Linked DNA regions of Homo sapiens: region 2 is linked to region 1. The links are contacts of gene promoters, found by promoter capture Hi-C in blood cells and fetal thymus (Javierre and others, 2016). All regions are on one chromosome and are shown on one strand. The core of a region is centred on a gene start or on the middle of the fragment in contact, and the rest is flanking DNA. Distances in the headings are between cores, read along the strand shown.

The links. Contacts are between HindIII fragments. The CHiCAGO score rates a contact against its expected background, and 5 or more counts as called.
Region 2: a fragment that was not itself captured here is called in contact with the fragment with the promoter of TOPBP1 in region 1 in 1 of 17 cell types (fetal thymus); the score reaches 5.0 in fetal thymus.

The regions. Positions count from the first base shown.
Region 1 is chr3:133,657,794-133,664,545 of GRCh38, forward strand. TOPBP1 (DNA topoisomerase II binding protein 1) reads right to left here and starts at 4,148. Exons shown (of 28, transcript NM_007027.4): 1 at 3,976-4,148; 2 at 3,251-3,341; 3 at 1,223-1,357; 4 at 5-148. The coding sequence starts at 3,334. It overlaps LOC124909487, which reads left to right and starts at 3,433. Exons shown (of 3, transcript XM_047449438.1): 1 at 3,433-3,553; 2 at 3,720-4,240; 3 at 5,106-5,545. The coding sequence starts at 3,433. The coding sequence ends at 5,255. It also overlaps a transcript of TF not described here. RefSeq lists a silencer at 3,935-4,104 and an enhancer at 4,505-4,574. The HindIII fragment of the contact is 9,162 bases long and covers 1-4,274 here.
Region 2 is chr3:120,092,827-120,099,578 of GRCh38, forward strand. It overlaps GSK3B (glycogen synthase kinase 3 beta), which reads right to left and starts at 1,621. Exons shown (of 11, transcript NM_001146156.2): 1 at 521-1,621. The coding sequence starts at 608. It overlaps GSK3B-DT (GSK3B divergent transcript), which reads left to right and starts at 2,278. Exons shown (of 3, transcript NR_186629.1): 1 at 2,278-2,952. RefSeq lists enhancers at 1,800-2,209, 1,836-2,130, 2,410-2,729. The HindIII fragment of the contact is 487 bases long and covers 2,273-2,759 here.

The DNA.
Region 1 (6,752 bases), core at 2,898-5,397:
CTACCCTTTTTTCTTTTTCCAGACTTGTACAAGATATGGTTACATCAGACATAACCATATTATAAACTGGATGTTCGGCTCTTGGGACACATCGCTGGTGGTGCATACAAAATATGACTACTTGAGGACCAACAATTCTGCAGCCAAGCTACAAAAAAGAGAAAAGTTTAAATGAGTTAAGAAGGAAAAGACCACCAGTCTTACAAAATTACATTTTGTAACATTCACCAATTCTTTACCAAAGTTGATGACCACTGTAGAGAAATCAGCAAATCATTACAAGAAAAAAATAAAGATGACTATATAATTTCTCAGAGATACTATACATTAAACACTCACACACAAAAGCAAATCAAACAATGCAAGCTATCAAAAGAAATAAACTTCAGGCCAGGCACAGTGGCTCACGCCTGTAATGCCAGCACTTCAGAGGAGGCCGAGCGGGGGTGGATCACCTGAGGTCAGGAGTTCGAGACCAGCCTGGCCAACATGGTGAAACCCCGTCTCTACTAAAAATACAAAAATTAGTCGGGTGCAGTGGCGGGCACCTGCAGTCCCAGTCTCTAGGGAGGCTGAGGCAAGAGAATTGCTTGAACCCAGGAGGCGGAGGTTGCAGTGAGCTGAGATCACGTCACTGCACTCCAGCCTGGGCGACAGAGTGAGACCCTATAACAAAAGAAAAAAAAAAAGAAAAGAAAAGAAATAAACTTCAAAAGCCCCTTTCACTGAAAACTGCCTTACTGCTTACATCTATAAGCCCAATATTTTGGGAGGCTGAGGTGGGAGGATCACTTGAGTGCAGGAGTTCAAGACCAGCCCAGCCTGGCCAACATCGAGAAACCCTTTCTCTACTAAAAATAAAAAAATCAGCCGGGTGTGTATATACATCTGTAATCCCAGCTACTCAGGAGGCTAAGGCACAAGAATCACTTGAACCAAGGAAGCAGAAGTTGCAGTGGGCTGAGCTTGTGCCACTGCACTAAAGCCTGGGCAACAGAACAAGACTCTGTCTCCAAAAAACAAAAACAAAAACAAACAAACAAACAAAAAAAGCCTACTGTAACATAATTAGCCTTTCAATCCTGGTCTTGCCAAACCAAAAGAATTCCAATGTACTCATAAGTTGCATAGTACTTTATAATCCGCAAAGAATGTATGTCCATTAAAGCAAAGATAAACCAAAAAATAGACTACCAAAGGTACACACTAGAAGTCAGCAAACCTTTTTGAGGTGATCAAAGACAACGCCACTAAAAGGGTCACAGATATAAAGTGATCTATCATTCTCCTTTATCTTCAATGCCTCTTCTTCTGTAATAATCTGAAGATATTCTTCTGATTGGAATTCTTTTATGGACTGAAAGAAAAAATAAAATAAGAATGTACCTGAAATTACTCTCCTGTATTTAGGTCCTATTCAAATTCCATCTCAAATCCAGCCTTTTCCCTATTGAAAGCCACCATCACATCTCACTTAGACCTCTGCAGAAGGCTCCCAAGTGGTCTCTTTTTCCCTTCCTTGCCCTAAATCTGTTCTCTACACAGCAGCTAATAATCTTTTCAAAAACACAAGTCAGATCATGTCACTATCTGCTCAAAACCTAATGTCTTCACACCACACCCAGAATAAAATCCACATTTCTTACTACAGCCTTCAAGACAACACAGTCTGGTTTCCTGCCTATCTTTCCACCTTTACCTCCTACTTCTCATCTCTCTTGCTTATTCTATTCCAGCCACTCCCGCTTTCTTGCCAACCCTGGAACAAGCCAACCATAACCTCATTTAGAGGCTCTGCTCTTGATCTTGCAGCACAGAATACTTTTTTTCCAGGTTTTCACCTGACTTAATCCCCCACTTCAATCAGGTCTGCTTAAATGTCACCTCCCCAGAGATGCCCATCCTAATCAGGCTTTCTCAAATACCCTTCCTCTACCCTTCTAGTCTATTCTATTTAAAAATACGTATTTATATATATATATATAGTTTTTGTCTCTCTCCCCTGGAAGTTTCTATGTATCTTGTTTGCTACTATATCCTGACACCCAGTAAGCACTCAGAAATGTTCTGAACCAATTTTGAGGTCCTTATGTTAAATACAGTAATCCCTTTAAAACTGTAAGTCAGATCATGTTTACTCTTCTGATTATCAACCCTCCAATGGCTCTCCACTGAGAGAAAAATGGCCCACAAGGCCCTACATGACCTCTTTACCATTATTCTCTAACGCATTCCTTAGTACTCTTCCCCCATCCCTCACTCACTACACAACAGTACACTAAACTTGGATAGAGACTACAGGCACTTTCCCAGGGGCTGTATAAGGTTGCTCTCTCTGCCTGCAACATTCTTCTCCAGATATCTGCAAGGCTATCTCACCTCCTTCACGTTTACTCAATATCTTTTTCTTCATAAAGCCTACCCTGATCACACCCTATTTAAGATTATAACCCCCTTCTCTTCCCACCCCAAGAAACATCCTCTGGAACCCCTTAACGTGTTTTGCTTTTTTCTCTTCCTAATTTATCATGTCTGATTAGTGTCTATGTCCTCCTGCTAGAATGTAAGCTCTGAAAGAACAGAAATCTTTGCCTGTTCTCATCACTGATAAATCCCAAGTACTAGAGAAGTGCCTATCAAATCATGAACACTTCAATAAATACTTGCTGAATGAATGAAGTTTAAAAAAATCTGCTACAAATGCTTCTCAAACTTTAATGCACACTGAAGATCTTGTTAGAAATGCAGATTCTAAGTCTGGGTTGGAGGCCAAGATTCTGCATTTCGAAGAAACTTCCAGGCCATGCTGATACTGCTGGGTTCTGTGAGAAGCAAGGATCTACATCACCCCTACTATCATCCAATTATTATACTGTACATAATAAAACATAATTTTTAACAATTAACCAAAAAATTTTCAAGTATGACCAGTACACAACTGACTCAAATTTCTACAGCACGCAAAGGACCACTCTGGCTAGGAGACAAATGAAAGCAACTTAATTTCCAAGAACTGTAGGTCAGCCATATTAAACAGCAATGTGATAATAGACTTCCAGCCCCCCGAAATACATAATGATGTACTTAGATCAATTCAAAAATATGTGATAATGATATATCTGTATTAATGTAGACTATAAAATTATTATGAAAGTGAAATATCTACTTCTAAGACATAAAGCCCAACAAATCAAAAACACTTAAAAACAAGAAAATGAATTCACGGTATTAAGATGTTTTCAACTCTTACCTCGAGAGCTTTAAAAAAACATTTGGAATTGTCTGAAGACTTTAAAAACTTCACAAAAAACGGTTCTTTGTCATTTCTGGACATTTCTGAACTGTCAAAATAAAGGAACCATTAACAAGAACAAAACCACATTAGATAAAAAGTTGCATGTTTAACCTACCTATTTTTCTGTGCAGACAAGAATGCCTAAAGACAGACATTCTGGCTCTGCCCGTGAATTCGTCAACGGCATTTCTAAGAAATCCTGGAACTTGGACAAAGCCAAGGTAAAAGATGACAACACCAATCCTTGCAAATCAGACAGCAAAATTAACCCGAATTGAATACACTGAGGAAGGCCCTGCTATGAAGGCTCTAAGCCCTTTAGGCCAATGGACATTCAATTGCACTTGTTTTAAGGATACACAGAGTGTATCTGTCCCTGCGGATACCCACGGCCTGCGAGGTACGTTCATCCCTCAGTAAACAGATTTTAAATATAAACATGGAAGCCAGTTAGCATGGTCTTGGCCCTGCATAAGGCTAGATGCTCCGGTTCCCATCTCCAGGAAAAGGCCTGGCTCTGGGATCACGGAAGCCACGTCCTCTCGGCGTCAAAGGCCCACCCGCCGGCTCCAGGGCCAGTTACCAGGACAGGAAAAGAGGGTCCTGAAGGCCACAGAAGGCATCGCGAACCCCAGTTGGGGCTGGGGAGGAGCTGTGTCCCCACTCCGCGCCTCACTTACCTCGTTGGAGCCTCGGGGTCTCCGGGCGGCGAGTCGGGGGACGCGCTGGCCGCAGGGCGGTGGCTGGGGTCGGGCGCCAGCCCGGCGCACAGCCCCCTCCCCCGACTCGGCGCCGCCCCTACCCCAAAGCAAACGCTGGAGAACCCGGAAATTGCCCAGAACGGGAACCGACTTTCGCGCCAACCGCGCGGCCGCGCTTGCCTTTTCCGGTGGAAGTGACGCCATCGGCAGCTGCAGCAGAAGAGCGGAAATGTCAAACGTGGAGGTGAGCAGTCTGTGGGCGGTGGGGCTTCAGGGAAAGCTTGGGCCGGACCCTTTGGGTTTAGGGCTTTGCTGGGCGGGCCTAGTCTCCGCTGCGAGTAGGCCCAGCGCCGTCGGTTCAAGAGGTAGGACCACAGGCCAGGAATACTCCTTTACTGTTAAAAAAGCCAGGGAAAGAAAGGATTTCCTCAATAGATATTTATTTTACACCTGTCTTATACCAGGCATGCACGGGAAAAGGTATTATCCAAAACAATTCCGTGAGGCAAATAGTGGTAGTTCCATTTTGTAGATGTAAAAACGGAGGAAGTTAAATGATGGGTTCAAGGGCACACGGCTAGTAGGTGGTAGAATTAATACTGCATCCAGGTCTTCTGACTACGGACTGGGTGGTTTCCCTCCAACACAGCAGGAATAGAATCACCGCCTAACACAGCCACAAGATGGCAAGGGAAGAAAGGATGACTTATTACACAGCTAATGCAAAGGGATCTTTGTCAAGATCTTCAATGGTCTCCCCTCCTCCTCCCCTTCAGTGGACATCGCCGTTCTCTTTCTCTGCATCTGCCTCAGTACTGGGGAGATTCTGGGACTGAACCTAAGATTCAGATGGCAGAGAGCAAAGGGAGAGGGGATAAGATGGGCCTGCAAACCTTAGTGATAACCAGCGGAAAACTGATTCGTTGTTGCTTCTTTTCATTTTATTCTTTTTTAAAAAAATTTTTTCTTATTTTATAAAATCTAGCCACTATACTAATGAGGATCATTTTATTATTCACTGCTGAGATTGAGAAAATGACTTTGGATTTACTAATGTAAAAGTATAATGCCATGTCCCTTGATTGTTTTTGTTTTTCTTTTCTTTTTAGAGCCTAAAGATAGTAATGAGCAGCTTGAGTCTTAAGTTTTTGAATACACCGATGGAAGGTGACAAAGATTCTTTGCTTGGCCAAACTTTAGTCAGACTCCTCAACCTTCTCGTAGGTTTATCTGTGCATTTCCTTGGAAAATCCAGTTAGAACCCTCTACCCTCAATATCTGATCAGGTTCCTCATCCTCTACCATCCAAGGTGATGTCTGATCACCTTGACCTATTTTCAGCAAGAAACCCCTTTACTCCTGAAGTTCCTTCTTAGTAATTTTTTATCCAGTGACCCCAAGCTTTTTGTTCCTTGGCTATAAATTCCCACTTGCCCATGGTGTATTTAGAGTTGAGCCCACTCTCTCTCTCCTAATTCAGAATCCCATTGCCATGGTTGCTATACCTATCCTGATGGTCCGGAATAAAATCTGTCTTACTGTGCTTTAATAAATATCATTAATTTTTTTTTTTTTTTTTTTTTACCAGAAATGAGTCAGAATCAATTAACACTGGGGCTCAAAGGTAAAGGCCTATTGCTGGGGGAAGGGTGAAGAAAGCCTTAAAAGCAAAAAAACAAAAATCACTAGAGGTGGGAAAAAAAAGAAACCACAGTTAATTGTTAAGGTGCAAATCTGACCTGAATCTGTAATAACAATTAATATTTCTAGGGCACTTTACAGTTAACATGGGACTCCTGCTCACACTATTCCCGTTTACTCTTTTCAGCAACCCTATAATAGATGGGTATCATTGTCTCATGTTATGGAGATGGGGAAAGTGAAGTTCAGGGACTGTGTCACTTGCCCGTGCCTTTCCTGACACACCACACTGCTCCTGGGCACGTGCTGTCTGCCCATCTCTGTGTGAAGTTCCACACCGGGGAGGGAGCCCATTCCTGGCATTTCTGGGCCAAGTAGAGACCTCACAAGAGAAGGAGATTCATAGATGCTGCTAATGAAGATGAAGAAAATGCACCCTTTAGCTTTTACCCAGCCGGAACTTGATACCAGAGGAGTGACCTGTCTTTAGAGTAAGAGTTCACCACTAGGGGGCAAGTTCTCCCATCTTGTGTCTCCAGATAAGCAGAGAGGGTCTGTCTCTAGTATCTACTCCTGGAAAATGGATAAAGCAGTGGTTCTGATGTGTAGTGTCTGGACCAGCAGCATCGGCATCTCCTGGGAATTTTGGGGGAATGAAAATTCTTGGGCTCCACTTCAGACTTATTAAGTCAGGAGCACTTGGGGTAGGGCTAGCAATCTGTGCCCTTCAGGTGATTTTGGTACACATTAAAGTTTGCTTGAACAGCAGTCCTTCAGGAAAGGGTGAAATGGTTAGTATCCACGGAGGATTGATTCCAAGGCCCCCTACAGATAACAAAATCTGAAGATGCTCAAGTACCTTATATATAACCTGTGCACATACTCCCATGTACTTTTTTTTTCTTTTTTTTGAGACGGAGTCTCACTGTTGTCCAGGTTGGAGTGCAGTTGGCACAATGTCTGCTCACTGCAACCTCCACCCCCGGGGTTCAAGCGATTCTCCTGCCTCAGCCTCCCAAGTAGCTGGGGTTACAGGCGTCTGCCATCGCACCCGGCTAATTTTTGCATTTTTAGTGGAGACGGGTTTCACCTTGTTGGCCAGGCTGGTCTTTAAC
Region 2 (6,752 bases), core at 1,266-3,765, about 14 Mb before region 1:
TATGTGTAGTCATACAAACAAGAAAAAAATGTTGGGAGGGTGGGACATTTAACGTCTCTATTAAGTATATCAAACTATGATAACCCCTGAGACCTAAAATATTCTCTCATTCCAAATTCCAAAAATTCTGCAAATGTGCATAATGGTTTAGTAATCAAATCTTGTCCTTCTCTTTATTCTAAAGGATGGGCAAGTAAACACTGTCATCACTACTTTAACGTGGAAACACTCGAGCACTTGATGAAACTGACTACCAACAGCAAGAAAAGTACAAGAAAGCAGTTTGAAATCGAATCATCCAAATAAATATCATATTATCTCAATTCAAGGTTAATGAGACCGGGGGAGGGGGTATGGGAGGAGTAAAAAGGGAGCTGCTTCATCCTTGACTGAAGATAGGTTTTGCCCTTTTCCATTGCCTGTTTATCAGGAGGTCTAATAATTTCAGATCCTGGTATTTCGAGGTTTCTTATTTTAAGGGCGAGGTGGAAAAGGGGTGTAAAATAAAACCAATACTCACTGCTAACTTTCATGCTGCCAAAAGCTGAAGGCTGCTGCACCGGCTTGCAGCTCTCCGCAAAGGAGGTGGTTCTGGGCCGCCCTGACATGATCACTCTCTTCGCGAATCACCTTTTCCTTCCTTCCTCCTTTTCTTCCTTTTGTCTTTATGTTGGGGTGTTAGGTTAACGATAAATGCAGCATTAAGTTCTCCCACAGAAGAAAAAGAAAAAGACTTCGTCCTCTTGGCTTTTCACTCCTTTTGTATACTATAAAAAACAAAACAAGCGATATATTTCTCCTTCAAGACAGATCGGCACGGATATTTAACATATAGATGATTTAGGACTTGGGAAAAAATACAATTCTTTCCCCTCCCTTTCCTGGGAGGAGAGAAAAGAGAGGGCAAATCCTAAAAAAATATGTATCACGTGAAACGGGGGCAAATACTTGATTGAAAATGAGTACTTCGAATATTATATTTTCCTCGGGGATTTTTTTTCCGAGTCAATGAAGAAGGGAAGCGGCGGAAGGATCACGAGTCTCACGCTTGAAGAGAAAGGGGGATGGGTAGGAGGGAGGGAGAGGGAGGGAGGGGGTGGCTCGGAGATGCGACGGGAAACGCTGCAGCTCCGGCAAGCCGCGGGATCCGGCGGGCTGACGGCAGGGGCCCGGCGAACTAGAGGGCGGCGGAGTCGCGAGTCAGTCAGAGGCGGGCGGTGGCGGTGGCGGCGGCTCCTCTCCTCATTGCGCCAGGAGCAGCTGCAGGCGGCGGCTGGATCCAGCGGCCATGGCGGTGGCGGAGGCAGCTCCCTTCAGACCCCAGGCAGCGGCTCCTCGACTGTTCCCCATTCGCCGGGGACATGGGAACCCGGCAACCGCTTCCGTCCCTCGGGGCCCCCTCCCCCGTCCGCGGCAACAGCTCGGCCGCCCTCCCGCCCCTCGGCTCTGCTCGGTGCCCGCTCAGGAAGTGTCCGCGCTTTGCCCCAGCCCAGAGCCCTGTCAGCGGCTGCGGGGCCGGCTCCTCCTCGCTTCCTTCCTTCCTTTGTCACTTGGCCCGGGCGGCGGCGGCGGCGGCGGCGGCACAAGCCCGCATTCGCCCGGGTCAGGAGCTGCTCTGTGTGAGGAGCGCTGTCTGCGCAGCCGCCTTGCACTTCCCCACTCCTCCTCCCCCCTCCTACTCGTCCTCCACCTCCTTCCTCCCCCACCCAGCCTTACACCGCCCAGCGCCCCGCCGCCCGCGTAACAGGCGTCTGGGAATCGCCGGCCGAGCCCCACGCTCGCCCGCTTCGGCTGGGAGCCGAAGCCCGAACGGAGCCAATCACGGACGTCGTTTGTTTGCGGCTCCTCCCGGAAAAAGCCGATCAGCCTGAGAAACCAATTAGAAAGTGACGCTGGGAAGCCACGCCCAAAGAGCGGAAAATGCCGAAGGTAGCCGAACGGAAAGGGTGAATTCGCCTTGTTCGGTGGCTGGCTGGAGGAGACATTCGACAATGGCAACAGTGGCCAATCAGAGTCGCCGGCCCTTACGAAGAGGCTTGAAGAGTTGAGGACGGTGAAACCCAGAGACGCTGGTGAAACTGCACGGCTGGGCGCCGCCGCCGCTTTGTGATTGGCTGGAAAACTCCGCTGGGAGCGTACCTCCTTCGGTGATTGGTGAAGAGAAGGGGGCTTCCGAGGACAGTCTGGCCAGTCAGGACTTCCCCTCCCTCTCCAAGGTGGGGAGAAGAAAGCGAAGGGAGGGCGTCTATAAAGCGCTGTCTCATTGGCCTGAAGCTTAGGCGCTGGAGTTGGGGCAAAAGGGAGAGGGAGGGAGCCCGAAACTCGCGGCGGCGGCCAATCGGCTCTCACTGCCGTCCAATCGCAAGACCTAGCTGCAGTGTGATTGGCCTTCGGCCCCGGTCCCAGGAGCGGGGAGATGCCTGACTCGGGTCGTGGCTGACGACCCGACGGTTCGCCTGCGGCCGCCTCCAACAACGGTGGAAACCGCACACAGGGACCGCGGGCCCTCGGTGCAGCAAATCGGAAAGTGCTGCGGTCGGCGGCCCTGGGCTCTGAGCGCTCAAGCGAGCAGAGGGGTGGAGGGGCTCTCCCCACCCACAGGAGGCTCTCGGCGGGGCGCAGCCAATTCTGCGCGCCCAAGGCTCCCCTCTGCCGTGGATCGCGTGTGCCGAGTGTTGGCCTCTTCCCCGAAAGGGCCAGACGGACCAAGGGGGCCTTCCCAGCCGGCTGCAAGCTCTCAGACGCTAAAATGGGAACAAAGCTTCCAGAAAGGCAGCGCCTTTGGGCGGCCGCGCCCCGCCCAGCCGCGGGGGCCATTGATACAGAGGCTTGCTGCGCTTGGTGTGCGCGGCCCGGCCGGGCCTCTGGAAACGCCCATGAGAAATGAGCTCATGCTGGATGCGCGCGCTCCTTGGGCGCAACTGCCCAGCGCAAAACGGGCCCCGAAAGCAGGTGAGGGGAAATGCCGTCAGGCCGGATATCCTGAAGCCTCCGAGGAAATGGGGGGGTCAGAGGAGCCCGTGGTAGCTTTGGATCTTTTGGAACTAGGGTGATCTATAAAAGTGCAGCTTGAGAAGATTTCATACATAAGACCAGCGTCCATTGTTCTACCATAGAACCAGTTCCTTTGGTCTGCTTTAGAACAGTGAGGTATGGCTACGTCAAGATAACAGAGAAAGTAGAACAGACAGTTGCCATCCTGATTGTAATCCAGTGGTGCCTGTAATTTCTACCTGCAGAGTCATCTCTTTCTGTTAAGATGCTGTCTCCAGAAAGCACATGTTAAAGGACCTATATTTGATCAGATTACCTGGCTCTTGCTTTGAAACACTGATGAAGGACTTGGGACAGAACAAAGTAAGCTTTGATGGAAGACAGGAAAGGTCTAGATAGTGTTTGCAGATTCAAATGGCTACAGAGGCCAGACAAGTAAAGCAAATGAGTGAGACTGGCCTTGTGTAAGACAATGGGGAATGATAGGGAAAATGGCAAATTGGAATATCCATGCCATAACTAAAAGGAACAGCTGCTCAACTCTAGCAGATTGTTGCCCTCAGGAATGTGGGTCCAGTGTTCTCAGATGTTCAATTTTTTTCCTCCCAAAAGAAACCCCAAAATTGGATTTTTGTGTGAAATCTCTGCATTTTTAAATGTTGGTAACCAAATTTTCAAACCCTGCAGGCCAACCTAAAAACATCCCTTGGCCAATGAGGCATTGGAAAAAGTGTTAATAATTGTTAGGGGCCCGATAGCAGTAGGAGGGTGAAAACAAAATGGTTTGGGACCTTAAATAATTGAAATGTATCTTTATTTATTTATTTATTTTTGAGACGGAGTTTCACTCTTGTTGCCCAGGCTGGAGTGCAGTGGCGCGATCTCGGCTCACCGCAACCTCCGCCTCCCCGATTCAAGTGATTCTCCTGCCTCAGCCTCCCAAGTAGTTGGGATCACAGGCATGTGCCACCATGCCAGCTACTTTTGTATTTTTAGTAGAGACGGGGTTTCTTCATGTTGGTCAGGCTGGTCTCGAACTCCCGACCTCAGGTGATCTGCCTGCCTCAGCCTCACAGAGTGTCAGGATTACAGGCGTAAGCCACCACACCGGGCCGGTTGAAATTTATCTTTAAAATAGTGCACCTTTAATCCTTTTTTTATTTCTGTGTGTATCTTATAATGTGCATATCATGTTAGCTCAAGATCAAGAGTTTATGGACAAGCCAGGAGTGGTGGCTTATGACTGTAATCCCAGCAATTTGGGAGGCCGAGGCAGGTGGATCGCCTGAGGTTAGGAGTTCAAGACTAGCCTGGTCATCATGGTGAAACCCCGTCTCTACTAAAACTTTAAAACTTAGCTGGGCGTGGTGGCGGGCGTCTATAATACCAGTTACTTGGGAGGCTGAGGCAGGATAATTGCTTGAACCCAGGAGGTGGAGGTTGCAGTGAGCTGAGATCGCACCATTGCACTCCAGCCAAGGCAACAAGAGCAAAACTCCGTCTCAAAAAAAAAAAAAAAAAAAAAGTTTATGAACCACTAGTTTAGACAAAGAATAGTTGTACAGTTGTACAGATGGATAAGGAAGGAAAGAACATTCCAGGCAAAGAGAAAAGGTTATGCAATGGCTGAAATGTTTAACAAGGTATTTGGAGACCTTGAGATAGTTTGAAATTATGTAATGTCTAAGATGTGGGCCAAGAGAAAATAAAGGAAAATATCACAGGATAATAGAGGAGTAAAGTAAACTATGCTGTATTAACTCCATATTAGGCAGCCAGTAAAAATAAATACAACCACCAAAAGTAACTCAGAAATATGTTTAGGAAACAATACTAATTGAAAAATATAGAACTTCAGGTTGTATATCTACCATATTTCCAATCTGTAAAATATAAGTACATTTGGATCAAGATTGGAAAGGAAGACAAATTAGAATAACTCGTCAATAACATATTTAAATATAAATGAAAATATTTAAATGTCTTTGCTTAGTATTTTTATAATAAATTTCTATTTTTTTACTTTTATTTATCTTTTAATCTCACTGTTATCCAGGATGGAGTGCAGTAGCACAGTCATAGCTCACTATGGCCTTGAACTTCTGGGCTCAAGCAGTCCTCCCACCTCAGCCTCCTAAGTAGCTGGGATTACAGGTGTAAGCCACTGTACCCCACCTCTGTGTTTGATTTTAAGGGGAATTGGCCCAAAAAATAACATTTATATTATTTCTTCACTATGATTCACATGTCCCTCAGAAGCCTCTAATTACAATGGAATTCTTAAAAAAAATTCACATTTCTCAGCAAAGCTTTCCAACGAAAATTTTTATGATAATCCTTTGTCATATAAGTTAAAATAGTAAAACTAGACAATAGTGAGTAAGTATTATATTTGAGACACCTGCTAGGCATCTGATATAAGGTGGATGAGAGGATCAGTGTCCTTTGGGAGTTTACCCTCTAGGGAAGCAACTACATGAAAAGTTAAATAAATTATAAAAATCACATTTTGAATTGATAAAAGTTATGAGACAGAACATAATTTGGTTTTTATTTATTTTTTTGAGACAGGGTCTCACTTTGTCCTCCAGGCTGGAGTGCTGCGGCCTCAACCTCCCAGGTTCAAGGGATCCTGCTGCCTCAGCCCCCCAAGTAGCTAGGACTACAAGGGTGCACCACCACACCCAGCTAATTTTTGTATTTTTTGTATAAATGGGGTTTCGCCATGTTGCCCAGACTGGTCTCAAACTCCTGGGCTCAAAATCTGCGTGCCATGGCTTCTCAAAACGCTAGGATTACTGGCGTGAGTCACCATGCCTGGCCTATAATTTGTTAATATGGTTGTTACTACAAAGTTTAAAATAAATTGCCCATGCATTCCTATTTATAATAGGTGAGTGGAGGACACTTCAATCTAAAGTGATCTTAAAGGAGGAGTAGTAGGATTTGAAGATGAAGAAAGAAGAGGGGAGGTAAATTACTTTCCATCACTTCAATTTCAACCCATCAGATAAAACCTCTCTTTAGTAAACCTGCATGTGGGTGGAGCTGTAACAGCAATTAAGGACAGTGTGACTCTGTTCTTCTGACTTTGGGAAAACCAGTTTGGCTGGAACAAAAAGCTGATAGAGAAGACTAATGGAAGATAAGGTTGAAAAGGTAGGTTTGAGGGAGCTTTGTTACAGGAAAAAAAAAAAAAAAAAACTGGGCTTTGTCCTGTAGACAGTGGAGAGGTACTTTAGCAGATGTAAGACATTACCATTATAGGAAAGCCTCTGAAGTAACATACACTGTGGTTTTTCCTGTTGCTGAAAATATGCCCAGAGTAACAAGATGTGGCATAGTTGGTTATGTGTCTTATAACCAGTGAGGTGTGCCCAAATGGGAAATTAATGAATGACTACCCAAAAAGAAGAGGGAGAGTGTTTGAAACACTGTCACTGTGAAATAGACTGGTTGTATGAAAAGTTGCATATCAAGCCTTTGGCAAATTATATAAATACTCTGATTTTGACATCTTAAAGGAGTATACTATAGAAAATAAAAGAAAAACACTTGAATCTGTTACAGGAAACGGGTCATGATCCAGACCCCAGGAGAGGGTTCTTGGATCTCACACAAGAAAGAATTCAGGGTGACCCCACAGTGCAAAAGTCAAAGCAAGTATTAAGAAAATGAAGGAATAACAGAATGGCTACTACATAGAGCAGCCCTGAGGGCTGCTGGTTGCCCTTTTTTTTTTTTCCTTTGAGATGGAG